Linked DNA regions of Homo sapiens: region 1 is linked to region 2. Evidence: promoter capture Hi-C in 16 types of primary human blood cells and fetal thymus (Javierre and others, 2016). All regions are on one chromosome and are shown on one strand. Each heading gives the region's core, a stretch centred on a gene start or on the middle of the fragment in contact. The rest is flanking DNA. Distances are from core to core; before and after follow the strand shown. Region 1 holds the start of MTMR6 (myotubularin related protein 6). Region 2 holds the start of POMP (proteasome maturation protein).

The links. Contacts are between HindIII fragments. The CHiCAGO score rates a contact against its expected background, and 5 or more counts as called.
Region 1: a contact is called between the fragment with the promoter of MTMR6 here and the fragment with the promoter of POMP in region 2, in 1 of 17 cell types (non-activated CD4 T cells). The highest score is 6.7, in non-activated CD4 T cells.

The regions. Positions count from the first base shown.
Region 1 is chr13:25,285,881-25,290,735 of GRCh38, forward strand. MTMR6 (myotubularin related protein 6) reads right to left here and starts at 1,608. Exons shown (of 14, transcript NM_004685.5): 1 at 1,344-1,608. The coding sequence starts at 1,367. RefSeq lists enhancers at 988-1,608, 1,312-1,651, 1,752-1,921. The HindIII fragment of the contact is 4,901 bases long and covers 947-4,855 here.
Region 2 is chr13:28,655,362-28,660,434 of GRCh38, forward strand. It overlaps POMP (proteasome maturation protein), which reads left to right and starts at 3,769. Exons shown (of 6, transcript NM_015932.6): 1 at 3,769-3,826. The coding sequence starts at 3,824. RefSeq lists an enhancer at 3,262-3,421 and a silencer at 3,642-3,701. The HindIII fragment of the contact is 5,788 bases long and covers 958-5,073 here.

The DNA.
Region 1 (4,855 bases), core at 358-2,857, 3.4 Mb before region 2:
AAAATAGAGGAGCTTCGAACTGATGCAGAAGGAAGTCACGTGCACTTAGCTACTACATAATACATATCTGGAACCAATACAAGAACCTGATCCAATGTCCACTCTAGTCCTCTTTTCCTCTGTGCACCTTCTACGAGTTTGGTTATAGACTTAAGCACCCTTCCATTTTCAAAATTTAAGTACCCACAACTTGAATTCTCAAGTTATTTTATCTTTCTTCTCTTAAAAAAAAATGTTAAGGGGTTAGTTTTCAGAATCTTCAATTTTACTAGATACGGTATGCACAATGTTAAAGACAAGCTCCAATAAAAATTTATGTATACCTTTAAAAGGTTTGTGAAACATTTAAAAAATTTTTAAAAACACAAATTCTTCTTGGAACAATGAAGATAACGAACATCTGTGGTTCCCTAAATGAGCCGTAATTTTAAGATGGGCAGCAACTAAAGGGCTTCAGCTTTGCCAAAACGTCAAGAGGCTGCCTTGCAGTGGGCTCGCAGTGATTTTAAAATGTTATTCTTCTCGTCTCGATTTATGTTTTTCTCCCTCTCAAAGTTAAACTTAAATGTCGTTGGAAACGTAATTTGGTAACATTCTGATGTCATTTCCTTCCGTTTTTAAATTTGTAACGAAATAAAAATATTTGTTCGTTCTCAAAATGAAGGTCTTCCACACACAAAAATTAAGCATGGAGTGCAATAAGGTCAATCGAATAAAGCTGCATCCGACCTTTTAAAATATGGAATAACATTTTTCCCTTCTCCAGAACTCTTGACTACTGACACAGGACAATGCCTGAAGTATGAAGCACAGACACGGAAACACCGGATGCGAAAGACTGGAGACCGAGACAGCAAAGGGAGGTGGAGCGGAGTGCTGATCTCGGTTCCTCCAAAACTCGTACTGTGAATCTGTGACACGGGACAATGAAATGTGAGCAAGGACAAGCTTACACAGCATCATAATGTTAATTTGAAGACGGTTTTCCGGTTGATGAGGCAACGAAAGGCTGAAAGACTCCAAAGTTAAAGGAGCCCCAATTTTGCCCGAGAAAACGTAGAGCTAGGAGGGCGGTGACCAGTTTTCCCAGACTTATCTCTACGCACTCCAAGATGCTGAAAGTGGGACCCCTGCTCCTGTAGGTACAGGAGGCCTCTGCACCCCGCTTGGCCCAAGCTAACCCTGCCCTCCCAGACCAGGCCTGGCCAGACCCTCCCGCCCCGGGCCGGGTCTCCGCCGGGCCGGCTCCCAGCCCCAGTCAGGCCAGCAGAGCCTTCGTCTCCTCCTGCCTCAGCCGGGTCAGAGCAGGGCCCCTGAAGACTGGCGATCCCGCGCCCGACTACCTTGGTCGTCCGGATATGCTCCATCGCAAGGAGACGTCAGCCGGCAGCCGGTCTCACAGGCGTACCATACGGCTACAGAAACAGGGCGGTGACAGCGACAGAGAGCAAGCGGGAACTCCCTCCACCAGCCAGCGCCGCGGGTCTGTCTGCCGGCCCCGGTGGCGTCAACGGCGCAGGTGCAGCCGGTGAGCGCCGTCTCCTAGAAACACTTCCCCAAACCCCGCGGCCTCCCGGGGGACTCGGGGCAGGCAGACAGAGCGTGTGTGGACCGAGAGCGGCTTGCTGGTTCGTCCCGGACAGCGGCGGATCCCACAGCGCCCCCTGCTGGAGGAGGCCGGTACTGCTCACCACCCCACCCGAGGCGGTCTTTGTCATCCCGCCGAGCGGACGCGCGGGGCGGTCGGGGAGGAAGACTGCGTGAGAATGGATCCCGAGTAAAGGGTTCTTGTGGGGTGAGGGCAAGAGTGGAGGATGTTCTGAAGTCCATCGCCATACCACTGGACAGCACCAAATTTAGTTTGAGCTGCAGTTCTACTCATAAGAATGTATTCTAAGGAAATAATCAGATTTGGAGTTATTATTCTAAGGAAATAACCAAATAAGGAAACCAGCCTTATTTGAAACAATCAACTCTCCAATCCTACGGATTCCTTATGTAAAGTATGATGATTAGCTAGTCCTCAATCTGGTCTGGTGTCAGAGTCCCGCCTCCTACCTCAATTTCATACGATGTTAGCACCAGCATCCATTAAAACTCATCCTGTAGAGGGATATCACATAACGAAAATGTTAATGCTGCATTACTGAGTGAAGAAAAAACTGACTATGGAACAATAAGTTCAATGTAGCCGTGCTCTGTAATTTTTATTTATGTAAACAAAAAGTTTACATTTCTAGGTGAGGGTTACAGGTAATTTTTGTTAGAACACGTCTAATGTGGTACTTCTCAGCCTGGAGTGAGTTTTCTCCCCGGGGGACATTTGGTAACATCTGGAGATATTTTTGGTTGTCTCAAATGGTGGTGGTGGGGGGGTGGCGGCGGGGGGCAACTGGTGGGTGGAGGCCAAGTCACAAGTCGGCTGCTGAACACCCTACTAGGCACCAGACCAACCCCCCAACTACAGGGAATTATCCGGCAGATGACAACAGTGCAGAGGTTGAGAAACCCTGCTCTATGCCAGGCGCGGTGGTTCACGCCTGTAATCCCAGAACTTTGGGAGGCTGAGGCGGGCGGATCACTTGAGGTCAGGAGTTAGAGTCCGAGAAACTCTGCTCTACGTTTTGTAAGTATTCTGTACTAAGCCGGTTAAGGTTTGTAATCTTCATCTTTCATACTGTGATTGGTGTTAGAAAAGCCTAACATCTAAATTTTCTTTTATAATTAAAAATTTTGTTTCACTTATTTGTTTCATTTTGTTCAAGTTGTCTTGGTTTGTTTTGTTTTGAGTGCCTACGATGTTTCAGACAGATTGCCAAAGCAATGGAGATGGTTATTAAACACAACAGCCTTTGCGGTGGAGTTGCTGACTCCTCTAAGCTAAATATGTAATAAGAGTTACATTAAACCACCTAGAAACCAACCTTAGTACAGTATCACATCCACCCCCTCCCCCCGAAAAAAAACCCCACAAATCCTGCTCAGAAAAAAAAAAAAATATATATATATATATATATACACATATATATATATATATATATACATATATATATATATACACATATATATATATATAGAGAGAGAGAAAAGTAATGTAGGTCTTTACTGAGGATTGCTTTTTGAGAAAACAGAAAGAGGTGAATTGTATAGCATACAGCAAGACTTTCTTAACAAAACTTTTTATATCATTTTCCTCCCAATTTACAACTTCCTCCTTCCCCATTCCCCTACAGATTATCCTCCCTCTTCTCATCTCCTCACTTCCTGTGTCCTCTCTTTACCAATTCTCACAGAGAGGCAATCATAATGATGTCAGGTGACCAAATGTACTGAGTGCTTTACGGGTATTCTGAGGAAAATGCTATTGCTTTCTTTATTTTAGAGATGAGACAAGCGAGACACAATGAAGTGAAGTAACTTGCCCAATATCACATAGCAGATAAAGCCAAGATCCATGTTATAAAGCCAGACAGGCTGACTTCAGAGTCTGTATTCTTAACAACTGTTTTACATTGATTTGCTTCTCAAAATCCATATTAAAGTTCTATTTATGTTAATATGATAGGCTAGAAAATTACCTAGCTTTACAGAAAGAAAGTAAAATAACAGATAAAATATTAAATGACGTTTCTTTGACTCTTGAGTTGAATACTCTTGCACTAGATAGAATATTCCTTATGGTTAAATCTGGCAATCACTCAGTTCCATTATCTTTCCTCGAGACATCTCTTTAGAGGTCTCCAGATGCTTCTAGGAGCCTTTTCTCCTTTTGCTCCAGTTTGCACTTGTGTTCTCTGAGCCTACTGAATGGATATTATCCTGGGACTCTCCTCACCATGGGCCTGAGAAATGTGTTGGTTACTTGTGCTGAATTTTTAGATCCTGTGGTTTATCTTTCTTGATTTACTTACTTGCATTGTTTTATTCTGATGTAGTATATTCTGTATTAACTTCCTGAGAAAGGGTGAATGGAGCATAAATCCTTGACGGGAAGTTTGGCTAGGTCTAGAATTCTGTAATTTTAATTAGGATTTTGAAAGCTCCCAGAGACATATCCTGACTTTCAATGCAGTTGTTCAGAAATCCGCTGGCATTCCGATTTCCCTTTAGGTGTCGCTTCTACTTTCTCAGGATGCTTTTTGGATCTCTTTATCTCCAATGGTCTAAAATTTCAACATAATAAAACTTAGCTTTCTTGTTTATTTTTCTGCCCAGTGTTTTGAGCTCTGTAATCTGAAAACATAAGTCCTTCAATTCTGGGACATTTTCTTGTATTATTTCTGTAATAATTACTGTTTCGTTCTTTTTCCTTCTTCCTTTTTCTTTTTTCCCTTTAAAAATTTTTTTTATTCTTCTCACCTCTCTTCTCTCCCTCATCTTTCTTCTTTCCTATTTCCCTCCTGTCCTTTCTCCTTTCTTTTTATTTTGTTTTATTTTTATTTATTTATTTTTGAGACAGGGTCTCACTGTGTCACTGAGGTTGGAGTGCAGTGGCACAATCTCAGCTCACTACAGCCTCAACCCCTCAGGTTCAAGCAATCTTCCCACCTCAACCTCCTGAGTAACTGGGACTACAGGCGTGCACCACCAAGCCTGACTAATTTTTGTATTTTTTGTAGAGACGGGTTTTTTCCATGTTGCCCATGCTGGTCTCAAACTCTCGGGCTCAAGTGATCTGCCTGCCTCAGCCTCCCAAAGTGCTGGAATTACAGATGTGAGCCACTGTGCCCAGCCCCTTTCTTTTTTCAGTAGAAATTCCTGGTCTGACTTCCTAATTTTACTATTCTTTCACTCCTATTTTTTAAGAATTTACCTTTCTAATCTACTCTCTAGGAAATTCTTAATACTTCATTGT
Region 2 (5,073 bases), core at 2,519-5,018:
TGGTCTGTCCAATCATGCACATGAAACAAAAACAAAACCCAACTTTCATTCAAACCAAAATCCTGATTCTATTTTTTGAAATGGACAACTTTCTGAAAAGAATGATCTATAAAATTTGGCTGCCTCCATTTTCTTCTTATAAATTCTTCATTCCTAACAATCTGGTTTATAGTTAAACTGCTCACCAGAAGATTATGCAAATGACATCCCATTTGCCAAACCCCATCGATCTTCCCATAATCATTATCTGACATCACTGGTCATTCCCTTATCTCAACATCGTATCTTCCTTAGCTCTGAGACATTTTCAGACCTCTCTTCTCTATGCCTCTTCCAGCTTCTTAAGTTCTAAAGAGACACTCACTACATACTAGATTTCAAAATCCTGCTGAGTACCTGCCTAAAGTATGCAAGGCACTGTGCTGTGGAGACAAAGCAGCTTTTAAGAGGGGGCTAACCAAGCAGGCTGGGTAATAGGGTTTGGGTGCCCAGGGCCAAGCTTAGGCAAATAACAGAAAAGAGCAAAGTTAAGTGTAATTTTAGATCGTTAGGGAGCACTAAAATTTAGGTCAGAAGACCCAAATTCAGCTGACAAGATGAAGTACAAGAATAGTACCCAAACAGGAGACAGATGAGGTAACAAATGGGGAAAGAGCTAGGAGGAGGGAGGAGGGTTCTTGCCAGATGTGAATGAAGCTGAATTTGTCCTCAGTTTACCTAGCTATGTCACCAGACTGACTTAAGAGTAAAGTCAAAGACGACTACAAAAAGTAAAACAAAATAGGGTGCTTGTTCTCATACAATGCCTCAGCATTTTCTGTGAAATGTGCATAATGATAGTATCTACCTCACAGGATTAATTGAAACAATATATGCAAAAAACTAAACCCTGGCCTGACATGTAACAAATGTTAGCTATCATTACTAATGTTCTATCCTCTAAGCTATTTAACATAAAGCTTAAGTAAACATAATTAAATCATTCCAGCATCAAATCTAATTTACTTCTTATTTAGCATACTCAAAAGTACCCCGTATTAGTTAATACTGTAACAAACCATTTAAAATAGGACATAAACTTGAGTGTAAGACTCAAAATAAAGGGAATTTTCTCCTTGCTGAGCCACTAAAACAACTCTTCACACTGGTCACCAAAAGCCTATTTTCAGGGCTTTATGATCCCTTTTTAGCTACTTTTGAACTACTTTCTAACCTCTCAATACTTCCTTGCCCTTTTGATTCGAAGATGGCATAGCCTTTAAAGCAGGCTCCCCTTCTTCTGGCTGTCTTTTGAATTCTGGTATTTCTTAGGTTCACTCCTACTTTTTCCTTCCTTTCAAAGCCTTTCCAGTATGTGACACTACCTTAGCGTACCATTAGTGGCTTAAATGGTATCCTGGTTCCTACTTTCTCCCAATCTTAGTCTGTCCTTCATGCTGCCACCAGAATTTTTTTTTTTTAATGCCAAATGTTTGTGAAAAGACCTCCATTATCTCCTGTTGTCTATAAGAAAAAGCCCTAAACCTCAGCATACCATAGAAGGCCCTTCGTTTTGGCCCCAACCTGTCCCTCCAACCTCATCTCATTTTGCTTCACCTGCTCACCCAGAGCTCCAGCCACAGGGAAATGTTTTCCATTACTCAGATAACAACACGACTTTTCACAGATCTCTTGCCTTTACATGTTCCTCTTCCGTGAATGCTGTTTTCTCCTGCTCCCAACAACTTTCTGGTTTAGCCCCTTTCTCTATCAAGCATTTATCACACTGCATTTTATTATTTTATTATTATTATTTGAGATGGAGTCTTGCTGTGTCACCTAGGCTGGAGTGCAGTGGCGTGATCTCTGCTCACTGCAACCTCTACCTCTCAGGTTCAAGCGACTCTCGTGCCTCAGTCTCCTGAATAGCTGGGACTACAAGCATGCACCATGATGTCTGGCTAATTTTTTTTTTTGTATCTTTAGTAGAGATGGGCTTTTGCCATGTTGGCCAGGCTGGTGTCGAACTACTGACCTCAAGTGATCTGCCTGCTTCCAGCTCCCAAAGTGCTAGGATTACAGGTGTGAGCCACTGCACCCAGCCCATGCTGCATTTTAAATATCTGTTTGCATGTCTATTTCCCCAGGAAAATATATAAGCATCTCAGGTACAGGGAATTGCTCTTTTCTTCTTTATAGCTCCAGAATCTAGTACCAAGCAAATGTTCAATACATATTCATTGAACTGTGAGCAATCAGCAAATGTTAAAATGATTTTTAAGAAAAGATTCGCAGTTTTACAATTTCTCAGGTGGAATTGACGGAAAGAAAAAAAGATGCAAACGAAACACTCCAACTCAAATCTCAGGATTAAACATGGCTATTGTGAAGGACCAGAAGACACCTAAAGGACAGCATGGCAGAACACATAACATCTGGAACTTCAAAGTTGTATGACCATGGCAGTGGATATACATAACATATATGGCCTTATCATTTTCCTCTCTCAAATCCTTCGATGGCTTTTTAAAGACAAAGCCTCATCCTTAATCTTGCCTACAAAGGCTGCATAAAAAACCTGTAGCTAGGTCCCATGATGCACGCCTGTAGTTCCCATTACTCAGCCGGCTGCAGCAGGAGAATCGCTTGAGCCCAGGAGTTCAACGCAGACCTGGGCAACATAGCTAAACCCTATCATTATTTAGAACAAACAAACAAAAACAACAACAAAAACCACTTGCCTCCATCTACTTACAACCTCATCTCACAGTACTCTCCACTTTACTTTCTGAACTTTAGCCAGACTTAGGCCTTCTTTCCAGTTCCGTTTTTGCACAAGCAGATCTGCACGTAATGTTGTTTTAAATATCCTACTACCCCAAACTAGTTCGCTCTTATCTTTTAGCTGTCAGTCCAAAGATTCCCTAAGATGTCTCCATCCTGTGGCAGCAGACTATAAGGCCGTTTTATTACATTATATTTGAACAATACAGAATAGTGTAATGAGCATGGATTCTAGACTCATAAATATGTCCTTAGGCATATTTATTTAAGCCCTTCATGTCTCGGTTTCTTCACCTGTAAATTGTACTTGTAAGGTTATTGAAAAGATTAAAAGAGATAAAGGATGTAAGCACTTAGAACTGTGTTGATAACGCAATTCAAAGGGCCCAACATATGTCGGTCATGATCACATTTACTTAATTTGTAGTCACTATCGTCCCCTCTCTCCCCTCTAGCCTCCGGAGTACCCCTGCTCCTCTAGCCCAGAGGCCACACCGGCCTGGTCCTTTTTTGTATTCCTAGCCTCAGCACAGGGTTCGGAACATACCAGGCCTTCAATATTATGTTTTTTAAAAATGACAAAAGCCTTGTGTCCCAATTTTGCTTTATTAGCCGAACGATCTCAAGCAAATCACTCAAACCACCTACGCCTCGTTTACCCTTCTGTGAAATGTAATAGCTACCTCAGAGAGGTTTTGTGTTAAATAAGGCGATGTACCTACAAAAGCACACTGCACATCTTAAAATGCCGTACAAACCGTAGATGTTTATTAATAAACCGGAGTCCGTGTCTTCCCTCCCCTCAGGCACGTCTCGTCCCGACCCCTCCCTCCTCCCAGCCCACACCCTTACTGCGCCCTTGGCCCTGGGTCCCTTGGGATTGCAAGCGTGGGAGCCTCGGCCCCGCGCAGCTCCCTCCGGCGTCCCGCGCCCTCCTTCCTTCCTCGCCAGGACGGACGCACTTCCGGCGGATGTGGGGGCCAGCCCTCGGAAACGGAAGTGAGCGGCGGGGTCGACTGACGGTAACGGGGCAGAGAGGCTGTTCGCAGAGCTGCGGAAGATGGTGAGTGGGTACCCGGGCGGCTGGAGTTCCACGCGGGCTCGGGACCGTGGCTCGGCAGAAACAGGCAGTCGCCTCCCAACCCGTCCCCGGTGGCGGCGGCGGCGGCAGCGTGGGGCTGAGGCCGGCCTCAGGCGCCATAATCTGTCGAGTCACGGGGTTTGGGTGGGTCGTGACTGTCGCCGGGGCCCGGCACTAGTCCCACTAGCAGTGCTTCGGCTTCATCCTGCTCCTCTTAGCTCGGTTTGCGCCCTTCCATCCCTTAGACCCCAGCAGGCCCAGACCTCCTCCCCTTACTTGGCGCAGAAGTGGAAAAGGCAGCCGTGAAAGTGCAACGTTCTGTGGGGTGGCGCTGGCGACCCTTTCCTTGACGGGTAACCTCTGGGAGCCCAGAGCTCTCAGACTCCTCATCTCCCCCAGCCCCCGCCCTTGTAACTGCCTAGTAAACAGCCCACAACTATAGGTCGCATTTGTGTAACGCAGCTTTGCTCTACAAACTTTTTTGAGAGCTTGTAGTGTGCTAGATGTTAGAGGGGAAAAAATCAGACAGTTGCTATTCCCTGTTTGCCAGTATTGTTAGTATATCTCCTCCCTCCTTCTCCTCCCCACCACTTTCTCTTTCTTTTTAACTTAGAAGTTGTGGTATTTGAGAAGAACACTGAGTCACCATTGCCACAGACTCTGATATCGGTACTGCTGGTAGGCCATCCATCCAAATCTAGAAAGTTTCTATTGGTAAATACTGCTAATCGTTATCTAAAAAGTTTTTTAGGCACTCTCAAATGTAACTAGTAGTTAGGTTTTCGTAGATTTGCCTTTCTCGGCTCCTTCCTTTATTAGAAACAGCAAGTACTAATCTTGATATTTTACAGAAGGAAATTGGGAAAAATGACAATAACAGAATCCAGAAGTCAGAATTCACCTTTTCTTTGTGCGTTGAAACCTTGTTACTTTACAATAAAGCAGTCCAGAAGGAGGAGAATGTTCATATAGGGAAGTAATAGAAGATACATTTGGAAAGCAACAATCACACATCTCTGCTGAAGGTCCCCAACTTCTGGTGGTTCAACAATCTTCTGACTTTATGATGGTGTGAAATCCATACACAGTCAGTAGAGGCCATATTTGAGTACCAATACAGCCATTCTGTTTTTCACTTTCAGTACAGTATTCAATAAATTACATGAGATACCCAGTACTTTTTAATAAAGTAGGCTTTGTATTAGATGATTTTGGCCGACTGTAGGCTA